Regions from separate parts of the Homo sapiens genome. Here region 1 is linked to region 2. Evidence: promoter capture Hi-C in human tissues and cell types (Jung and others, 2019). All regions are on one chromosome and are shown on one strand. The core of a region is centred on a gene start or on the middle of the fragment in contact, and the rest is flanking DNA. Distances in the headings are between cores, read along the strand shown. Region 1 has its middle 38 kb from the start of IL13RA1. Region 2 holds the start of ZCCHC12 (zinc finger CCHC-type containing 12).

The links. The method cuts DNA at HindIII sites, captures the fragments that hold promoters and counts their contacts. A contact is called where the count stands out against the background at its distance.
Region 1: a contact is called between a fragment that was not itself captured here and the fragment with the promoter of ZCCHC12 in region 2, in 4 of the 25 tissues and cell types used here (adrenal gland, dorsolateral prefrontal cortex, mesendoderm cells and 1 more).

Annotation. Positions count from the first base shown.
Region 1 is chrX:118,687,233-118,691,823 of GRCh38, forward strand. No RefSeq gene overlaps it. Among named protein-coding and RNA genes, the nearest start is that of IL13RA1, 38 kb to the right of the region's middle. The HindIII fragment of the contact is 5,152 bases long and covers 1-4,466 here.
Region 2 is chrX:118,820,281-118,825,073 of GRCh38, forward strand. It overlaps ZCCHC12 (zinc finger CCHC-type containing 12), which reads left to right and starts at 3,544. Exons shown (of 4, transcript NM_173798.4): 1 at 3,544-3,725; 2 at 4,059-4,110; 3 at 4,309-4,433. The HindIII fragment of the contact is 10,215 bases long and covers 965-4,793 here.

The DNA.
Region 1 (4,591 bases), core at 641-3,140, 130 kb before region 2:
TGGCGCGATCTTGGCTCACTGCAACCTCTGCCTCCCTGGTTCACGCCATTCTCCTGCCTCAGCCTCCCGAGTAGTTGAGACTACAGGCGCCTGCCACCACGCCCGGCTAATTTTTTGTATTTTTTTTTTAGTAGAGACGGGGTTTCACTGTGTTAGCCAGGATGGTCTCGATCTCCTGACATCGTGATCTGCCAAAAGTGCTGGGATTACAGGCATGAGCCACTTTGCCCAGCCTACACTTATTTTCCTTATGTGGTTTAGCCTCTTTTACAGATGAAAAAACAGTCACTAAAATATAAATGGATTGCACGGGGCCTTGGCTTTTTGAGCACTTTGTGATCAAGTAAATCCTAGAGATTATGCTCCTGGCCTGACCATTTTTATTTTTATTTTTTGGGGGGTACCATTTTTTCTTTTTTGAGACAAAGTCTTGCTCTGTCACCCAGGCTGGAGTGCAGTGGCGCCATCTTGGCTCACTGCAACCTCCATCTCCCGGGTTCAAATGATTCTCCTGCCTCAACCTCCTGAGTAGCTGGGATTACAGGCAGGTGCCACCACGCCCAGCTAATTTTTGTATTTTTAGTAGAGACGGGGTTTCACCATGCTGCTCAGGCTGGTCTCGAACTCCTGACCTTGTGATCCACCCGCCTCAGCCTCCCAAAGTACTGGGATTACAGGCGTGAGCCACCGCGTCCAGCCCATTTTTTCTTTATATGTCATTTTTAAGCTTTCAGGAGAGCATGAACTTATTTATTAAAAGTTAATTTTGTATTTTAATAGGGGACTTTTACAAGTATTTCCAAGGCAGTTTGTAATTCCTTAATATCTTAGAGTAACCTGTAGAGTTAGTTTCACCTTTAAAGTGATTATATTTGATATGTATGTGTGAGGAATCATCACCTCTAGTAAATGCTGCATTCTGAGAGTTTGGCATCTTGAGGAGACTCCAGCACTCTTCTGTCTGTAACTAGTCCCTGTCAAAGCCCCTAGCACAGCAATATGCACTGTGGGTAGATTTTTTAATGTAATAAATGGCCCCTATTGCCAAGGATCTCGCAGTCTAGTTGAGAAAGCAAGACGCACAAAATTAAATAGTACAAGAATTAACAATGTAAGACAGGAGAAGTCATATGTGAGTATTGCCAAATGAACGACAGCATTCATAACTCAAATCACATTCAAAGAAAGAGATCACTGTGAATTGTAAATGTTCAGGGAGGGTTTAGTGAAGAAAAGTTAAGCTTTGAACAGGCTTCCAAAAATGGAGAGGGGTATTCTAGGCAGGAGGAACACCATAAGCAAAGGTGCAAAAAGAATTTGTGGAGGTTCAGGGGATAGTAAGGAGACCAGTTTTGTCCAAGAGGTGGTAGATGATAAATCTAGAAAATACAGGCTGGGCGTGGTGGCTCATGCCTGTAATCCCAGCACTTTGGGAGGCTGAGACAGGCAGATCACTTGAGCCCAGGAGTTCAAGACCAGCTTGGCCAACATGGTAAAACACTGTCTCTAATAAAAATACAAAAAAAAGTTAGCCAGGCATGGTGGTACACACCTGTAATCCCAGCTACTTGGGAGGCTGAGGCACAAGAATCGCTTGAACCCGGGAGGTGGAGGTTGTAGTGAGCCTAGATCATGCCATTGCACTCCAGCCTGGGTGGCAGAGTGAGATTCTGTCAACAACAACAACAACAACAACAACAAAAAGAAAGAAAAAAGAAATAAAATACATTCGGACTGAGATTTTGGAAGGCGCTGAATACCAGGCTAATGGTATTTGGAGTTTACTCAATAGGCATGAGAGAGCTAGCCAAGGTTTTTAAACAGATTACTTAATTAAATGTTATTTTTAGAAATTTAATCTTTTATATTGCTGCCAGATGTATTTGAGGTAGAGAGACATGGAAATTAGGAAACCAGTTACATAGATATTGCAATAAACTAAATTCAATAAACCTCTAGATGTGAGTGATATGACAAGAATGGAGAAGAAAGGACGAGTCCCAGAGACATATATGGAAGGACTAGGTAAGACTCATTGGATGGCCAAGGGAAAAAAAAAAAGAAATGTGAAAGATAATTTTGTGTCCTGTGGCCAGGGAGTTTGCCATGTCATGGCACAAGCTCACTAGATTTATTTTTCCAACTCTCAGACTAAAGGTAGCAAGCTGTAGAGAACAAGGTGGGCTCGAACAGAGAAAGCTAGGTAAATCTGTTTTTTAAACACTACATGTATTAGGCATTAAAGTGTATATAGTTTAATGATTTCTTGAAGTGATTTGTCCTCTACAAATTAATTAACACCAAAGAATACATTTCTCCTATACTGATTGTTTTGCAGTTAAGCTTGAGTCCAATTTCCCCTAGAAGTTGTTGTTTTGATAGTCTTTGGACATACTGTGAAATGTGATTAAGTCACCCTTGGTAGTGTTAGTTTATCACTACGGTGAAAAACCATAGAGAAAATAAGAAATTCCATGGAAATTTTCCTAGTAACCAGTTGTCACCACTGGCATCATGTATATAGATGGGATTGTTATTGTTACCGTATTTATATGATTTGGCTGCCTATCAAAATATTATATATTTTCAAAAGTGAAACAGAAAGCAGCAGTGGTAGTAATGTCCTTGGAACCTTGACCAACAACACATCATCCTAGAACTAGAGATGACTCTAATTAAGAAACTAGATAAGTCATGATAATAAGAACGCACATTTTTAAAAAACTATTTCGTATCTTTTTTTCTTCTAACTTTTAGGTTCAGGGGGTACATGTGCAGGTTTGTTCCATGAGATATTAGCTTTCTCTGAGATGAAGAACCTGAGTGATATAATGGATTAATAGGAATTTCCAAACTCTTCAAAACATTGATAATTAGACATATGTCTTGGGCTTCTGATCTCCAAAATGTTGGGCTACCTTTAGTCTCAGTCTTGTTCTAACAGTACACTAGTTCAGCTATCAAAAGACAAGGAGAGGAAAGGAGTAAAAGTTGGTTGTGGGTGGGGAGTGGGTTTGTGTAACAAGGCTATACCCCTGTCTTGGGAGTTGGTGAGTAAGAGTGCTTTATTTATCTTTTTTTTTTTTTTCTAAGCACTTAATGGTCACTGTCTAAAAACAGTGTATCTATGTTTGTTCATCTCCTAATGGGAGTCGTGGCTAAGTTCTAAGATTTTGCCTCTGTGCATAGCATTTTAAAACTTTTCCAATGTTCTTTTTTTTTGCTTTGTTTTTCCTTTTTATTGAGATATAATTCACATACCATACAATTTACCCATTTAAAGTACACAATTCAGTGTTTTTTAAAATTACATCCACAGAGTTGTGCAAGTATCACTACAATTTAAAACATGTTTATCACCTGAAAGAGACCCCATACTCATTAGCAGTCACTCCTACCGGTCATCATCCTCCAGCCCCTGGCAACCACTAATCTACTTTTTGTCCCTACAAGGTTTACCTGTTCTGGACATTTCATATAAATGCAGTCATACAATATGTGGCCTTTTGTGTCCAGCTTCTTTGACATAGCATATTTCCAAAGTTCATCGATGTTGTAGAATGTATCAGTACTTCATTCCTTTTTATGGCTAAATAATAATCCATTATATAGATACACCATATTTTATCTTCTCATCAGTTGATGGACATTTGGGTTATTTCCACTTTTTGGCTACTGTGAATAATGTTGCTGTGAACACTCACAAGTTTTTGTGTGGACATGTTTTTAGTTCTCTTGGGCATGTACACAGAAGTGGAATGACTGGTTCATATGGTAACTCCATGTTTAACCTTTTGAAGAATTGCCAGACTGATTTCCACGGCAGCTGCACCACTTTATATTACCACCAGCAATGTATGAGGGTCCCAGTTTCTCAATATTCTTGACAACACTTGTTATTATCTGCCTCTTTGATTATTGCCATCCTAGCAAGTGTGTAGTATCTCTTTGTGGTTTTCATTTGAATTTCCCTGATGTCTAATGATGTTGAGAATTCTTTCATGTGGTTACTGGCCATTTTTGTATCTTCCTCAGAGAAATATCTCTTTTAAGTCCTTAGACCATTTGCTTTTTTGAGACAGGGTCTTGCTGTGTTGCCCAGGCTGGAGTGCAGTGGTGCGATCTCAGCTCACTGCAACCTTCCCATCCCGGGCTCAAGCGATCCTCCCTTTTCAGCTTCCCAAGTAGCTGGGACTACAGATGAACACCACCACACCTGGCTAATTTCTGTAGAATTGGGGTTTCGCCATGTTTCCCAGGCTGGTCCCGAATTCCTGGCCTCAAGCAATCCACCCACCTTGGCCTCCCAAAGTGCTGGGATTACAGGTATAAGTCACCGTTCCCAGCCCCTTAGCCCATTTTTAAATCAGGTTGCTTTACTATTATTACTATTATTGTTGAGTTGCAGGGTTCTTTATTCGAGATGCAAGTATATGATTTAAACATATTTCTCCTGTTCTGTGTGTTGCCTTTTCACTTTCATGATGGTGTTCTTTGAAGCATTCAAGTTTTTAAAAATTTTGATGCAGTCCAATTTATATTTTCTTTTGTTGCCTGTGCTTTGGCATTGTATCTAAGAAGACCTTGCGTA
Region 2 (4,793 bases), core at 2,294-4,793:
TACATCCTGTTACTATTATTTTAATAGTCACATACTATTAATTACTAGATATATAATTACCTTATCAGAATATAAATTTAATAAATACCTAAATAACTTCCAATACGATACCAGGCCCTTAGAAAAGTTGAAATCCATTTAAGCCCCTCCTGACGTTTTTTCTGATTGTATGATACATTAAGTTTATTTTTTAAAAAGAAGAATAGATGTTTTTCTGATTTCTTCTTCTGCCAATGTTCTCTTACATTGCCCACGTACTACCACTTCCTTTGCTCTTCATTCCTTCCTGTATTTATTTCTTTTAAGGTCATGTTCCTCCTGAAGTACATACTTCAGAATTTCCATTAGCTTGGTTTGCTGGTTACAAACTCTCTGTTTTGTTTGTCTAAAAATAACTATTTTATCCTCTTTTTGAAAACTTTTTTGAGTGATGCTGCCCTTAGAATGCCAGGTTAATATGTGCAGCATCTCCCATAAGCACCCCCATCCAGTCTTTGATATCCCTGAGCCGAAGCCCGAGTTTGAAGTGACCATATGCTCTCAGAAACCTTGGTGAAATAACAATGCCTATCTGAATAGGTTTGATGAGACACTTACATGAGATAAGGATGGAAAATTCCTGGCACAGAGGTTGAAGGCAACTAAAGGGAGTTATTCTTTCAACTGAAGGCATTGGCTCTGAATCTTAAGGATTTTAAGGGTTTTTTGTGTGTGTGTTTTTGTTTTGTTTTGTTTTGCAATTGGAAAATGAAATGTGGCCTCCTTAGAACCACCAGAGCTAGAATTCTTGTAATTGGAAGCCCCCTTACCCCCAACCCCTCTCCTATAATATGAGGCCAGAGATAAGGTATGCTCTGTATCCAACTGGAGCCAGTTTAGCAAATGCTCCTCCAAGCCCTATATGAAGAGACCTCCGCTTGGTTCTGATGATGCAACCCAGGCAACTTTACACAATCAAAATTTTTTGCACAGCTCTGAGACACAGTCTTTGTCCTTTCTGATGCCACCAGGTCCAACTGCAGAACACCTGATTTGGCGATGAAGCCAATTTAAATGTAGAACACGATTCTGCTTAGAGGCCAGGGTCAGATGTCATAGTATTGGGGAGCAGAAGCAAGAGTCTGAAGAAAACCCCTAAGCTATTGCCAGCATCACCCCCGACTGTGTGAAGTAAGCAACCTGCCTTCTCTGCACCTCCAAAATCCTCCACCCACCACCACCACCATTCCAGTGTTCCATCCACAAGAGAAAGGTCATGCCCCTGAGATGAAGGTGCTTTGTCTTTAAATGTAGATTGTTTACTCCAAGGAATTCTAGGTATTGGAGTTGGAAATAAGAAGGCAGAAAGAAGCAGGTAAAGTACCTTGGCAGGCTGAAGCTGAAATTAACAGCAGCTGAAAAGCATCAGACTGTTCACTCACTTCCAAACATCAGGAGTCAAGAACAAGCAACTCCTTTGCACTTGGGCAGTCCAAGTGCACTTGGTCTTGACCCCCCAAAGTTCCCACAGGAGTCTCTTAACCACACTTTACATGAGAGAAGGAAGGCTTGCTTTCCCAGAACCAGAAGTAAGGGAAAATGGAGTGCTGCAGGCTGAATTATGTTCCCCCAAATTCATTGTAATCCTAACCCTCAGTACCTTAGAGTGTGACTGTATTTAAAGATAGGGCCTTTAAAGAGGTTATTAAGGTAAAAATGAGGCCCTTAGGGTGGGCCCCAATCTGACTTGTGTCCTTATAAGAAGAGGAAATTTGGACACACTGAGAGAACCCAGAGGCACATATGCACAGAGAGGATGGCCAAGCAAGAGGGCAGCCATGTGCAAGCCAAGGAGAGAAGCCTCAGGAGAAACCAACCTTGCTGGCACCTTGAAGTTGGACTTCCCAACCTTCAGAACTATGAGCAATACATTTCTGTTGTTTATAAACCACCCAGTCTATGGTATTTTGCCATAGCACCCCAAACAGACTAAAACAGCACTGTAACAAATTATCACAAACTTGGCTTAAAACAAGAGAAGTTTAATTTCTCACAGTTCTAGAAGCCAGAAGCTTAACATCTGTTTCTCTGGGCTGAATTCAAGGTGTCAGTAGGACTGTGCTTTATTCCTTGCCTCTTCCAGTTTCTGGTGGCTGCTAGCATTCCTCTGCTTATGGCCACATCACTAATCTCTGGTCATTGCCTTCTCTTCTTGGTGCACCAACTCTCCCTCTTTTATAAGGGCACTTGTGGTTTAGATTTCAGCCTGCCTGGAAAATTAAGTCAAAAAGCCTTAACTTAATCACACCTGCAAAGACCATTTTACTTTATAAGGTAACATTTACAGGTTTCAGGGATTAGGACTTGATACATTTGGGTGGCCATTATTTAGCTTCATACAGAGTCCGAAATCTTTGCATACAATTTCAGGAAGATCATGGATTCCAGGTAGGCACATCTGCTCTGGAGTTGCATTTCACCACAGATACCTGTGGACAGATATTGGAGACAGGCTCATTTACTTATTCACAAACCTTGCTACAACTCAGAACCAACCGCAGCGCCGGTTAAAAATACTAAATACAAAACCACATCACAACCGCTAGTCCTAGTAAATCTGAATCCACCAGAGTTGGGGCCCAGAGCCTACATTTCTTTTCTTTTCCTTTTTTTTTTTTTTTTTTTTTTTTTTTTTTTTTTTTTGAGAGGGAGTCTTGTTCCCTTGCCAGGCTGAAGTGCAGCGGTGCGATCTTGGTTCACTGCAACCTCCGCCTCCCAGGTTGGAGAGATTCTCTAGCCTCAGCCTCCCAAGTAGCTGGGATTACAGGCACGCGCCATCATGCCCAGCTGATTTTTTTTTTTTTTTTTGTCTTTTTAGTAGAGACGGGGTTTCAACATGTTGGCCAGGATGGTCTCGATCTCTTGACCTCGTGAGCCGCCCGCCTCGGCCTCCCAAAGTGCTGGGATTTCAGGCGTGAGCCACCATTCCCGGCCAGAAGACTGCATTTCTAACAAGCTCCCCCAAATGACTCTGATGTCTTGCCCCCATACTTGAATGGGTATTGGTTGAGAGCCTTGTTCTCCAGCTCTCCTCTCTGTTAAATGGACATACTGCTACTTCTTTCACAGTAAAAGAGGAGATGTGTGTGAAAGCCTGTTTCCGCAATGCACGTGCTAATGCTCTTCCCGCCCCTTCCCCTCTTCCCCGTCTTTTCCCTATACCAAGGTGAAGAACTTTTATTATTCACTTGATTTTGGACCCACTTCGTGTTTAATGCACCTGGCCTAAGATGCAGAGTTGAGCCCAGGGAGAAGGGACGGGTTGGGGGAGGAAGAAAGAGTCGCAAATTCCCAGGCAGATTGGCTCCATCGGTCTAATCAAGCTGCACTTGACGCTCCGCGGGCCTGCTGCGCCCCCGCCCCCTCAGGCGAAAACTCGCCTCTGCCCAAGGCTGTGCGGGGCGTCCGCCCCCGCACTTCGCTGATTGGCCGCACTAGCCCGCTCGTCACGCTCTTTTGTCTCAGCTGGCAGAGGATAAAAGCCGCCGCGGCTGCCTTAGGAACGGCGCTGCCTCGTCTCTGCTACCCCTGGTTGGGCGGCCCTGCGAAGCAGCTCCTTCGGGCAGCCCCGGGTCGCTTAGCGGCCAAGGAGGCTTCAGTTCTTTGCCGCCTGCAAGGCGGAGACCAGAAGGCGGAATCCACAGCTGGCGACGCGGGAGCATCTGCTGTCCACCAGCGGAGCACAGGTAAAGAATGGGGGTGTGATTGCCCGGCGGGGAGAGGGGTGGGGGAAGACCCACCAGTACTGGGCGGCTCCCAGCTTGGAGAATCGGTGACTGTGAGGCAGGGGTAGGAGTACTCTCGTGGCCCGGCTGCGCTGAGGGAGGAGGTGGGGTTCACCTGGATACTGCGGGCTAGGTAGGATTTGCCTGGATTTGGGGGTGGGAGGAGAGGCGAGGAGTAGCGGGGGGAGGAATCTCGAGCTGTTTGCTTCGAACATCCTTTGCATCTCCTCATCTCTTTCTGGGAGGAATATGTGGGTGGGTGTGTCCAACTCCTATTCCCTTTCTCCGTGGCAGGCCATCAAAGCCGCATCTGAACTTGAATTCTGTGCAGCTGATTGCAGAGCTGGTAGGCCGACGGCTTCCCGGGGGAAATGTAATGCTGGAGGGTGGGGGGCTGGTCTCTGGCTTATAGTCAGGAGGGGGCAGAGAGAATTTTTCGCCTGGCAACAGCGGAGGTGGTGGGTAGCAGGATGACGGGTGAAGCTGCTTCTAACCCTTCCCTTCTCTGGCCTTCTCCGCTGTGGCGCAATCTTGAAACCTCAAGGACCCGGATCTGCGACCCCCTGTGGACAGAGGTTGACCGTACCCCGGAGAGGAGCTTTCTCACGGAGGGCACTGGTTGCAGAGGCTGGAAGTGAAATAAAGACGCGCTCTTGTTTCAGAGTTCGTGTAAGAATCTGAGAAATAACAAGGGGGACGGGCGTGGGGGGCACTTTGAGAAGGGGGTGTGGTTGAGACCAGAGACCATGAGGTTAATGAGATCTTATTTTATTTCCACAAATCTGCGATCATTGTACTCTATTTGGAGAGCCCAATATCAGCTCCAGACACTGCTACACCTAGAATTTGAAGCAACAGTTACCGTCCCTCTTGGAGGACTGGTGGGAGGGATGGATGTGGCTGCAAAAAGCACCTTGCTAGCACGCAGGCATCGGGTAGCTCTGGGAGGTTGTAAGTGTCAATCTCCTACAGGATTATTTTTAGGGTAGTGGGCAAATATAAAATGTACTGCAGGATATTCAGGTAGGA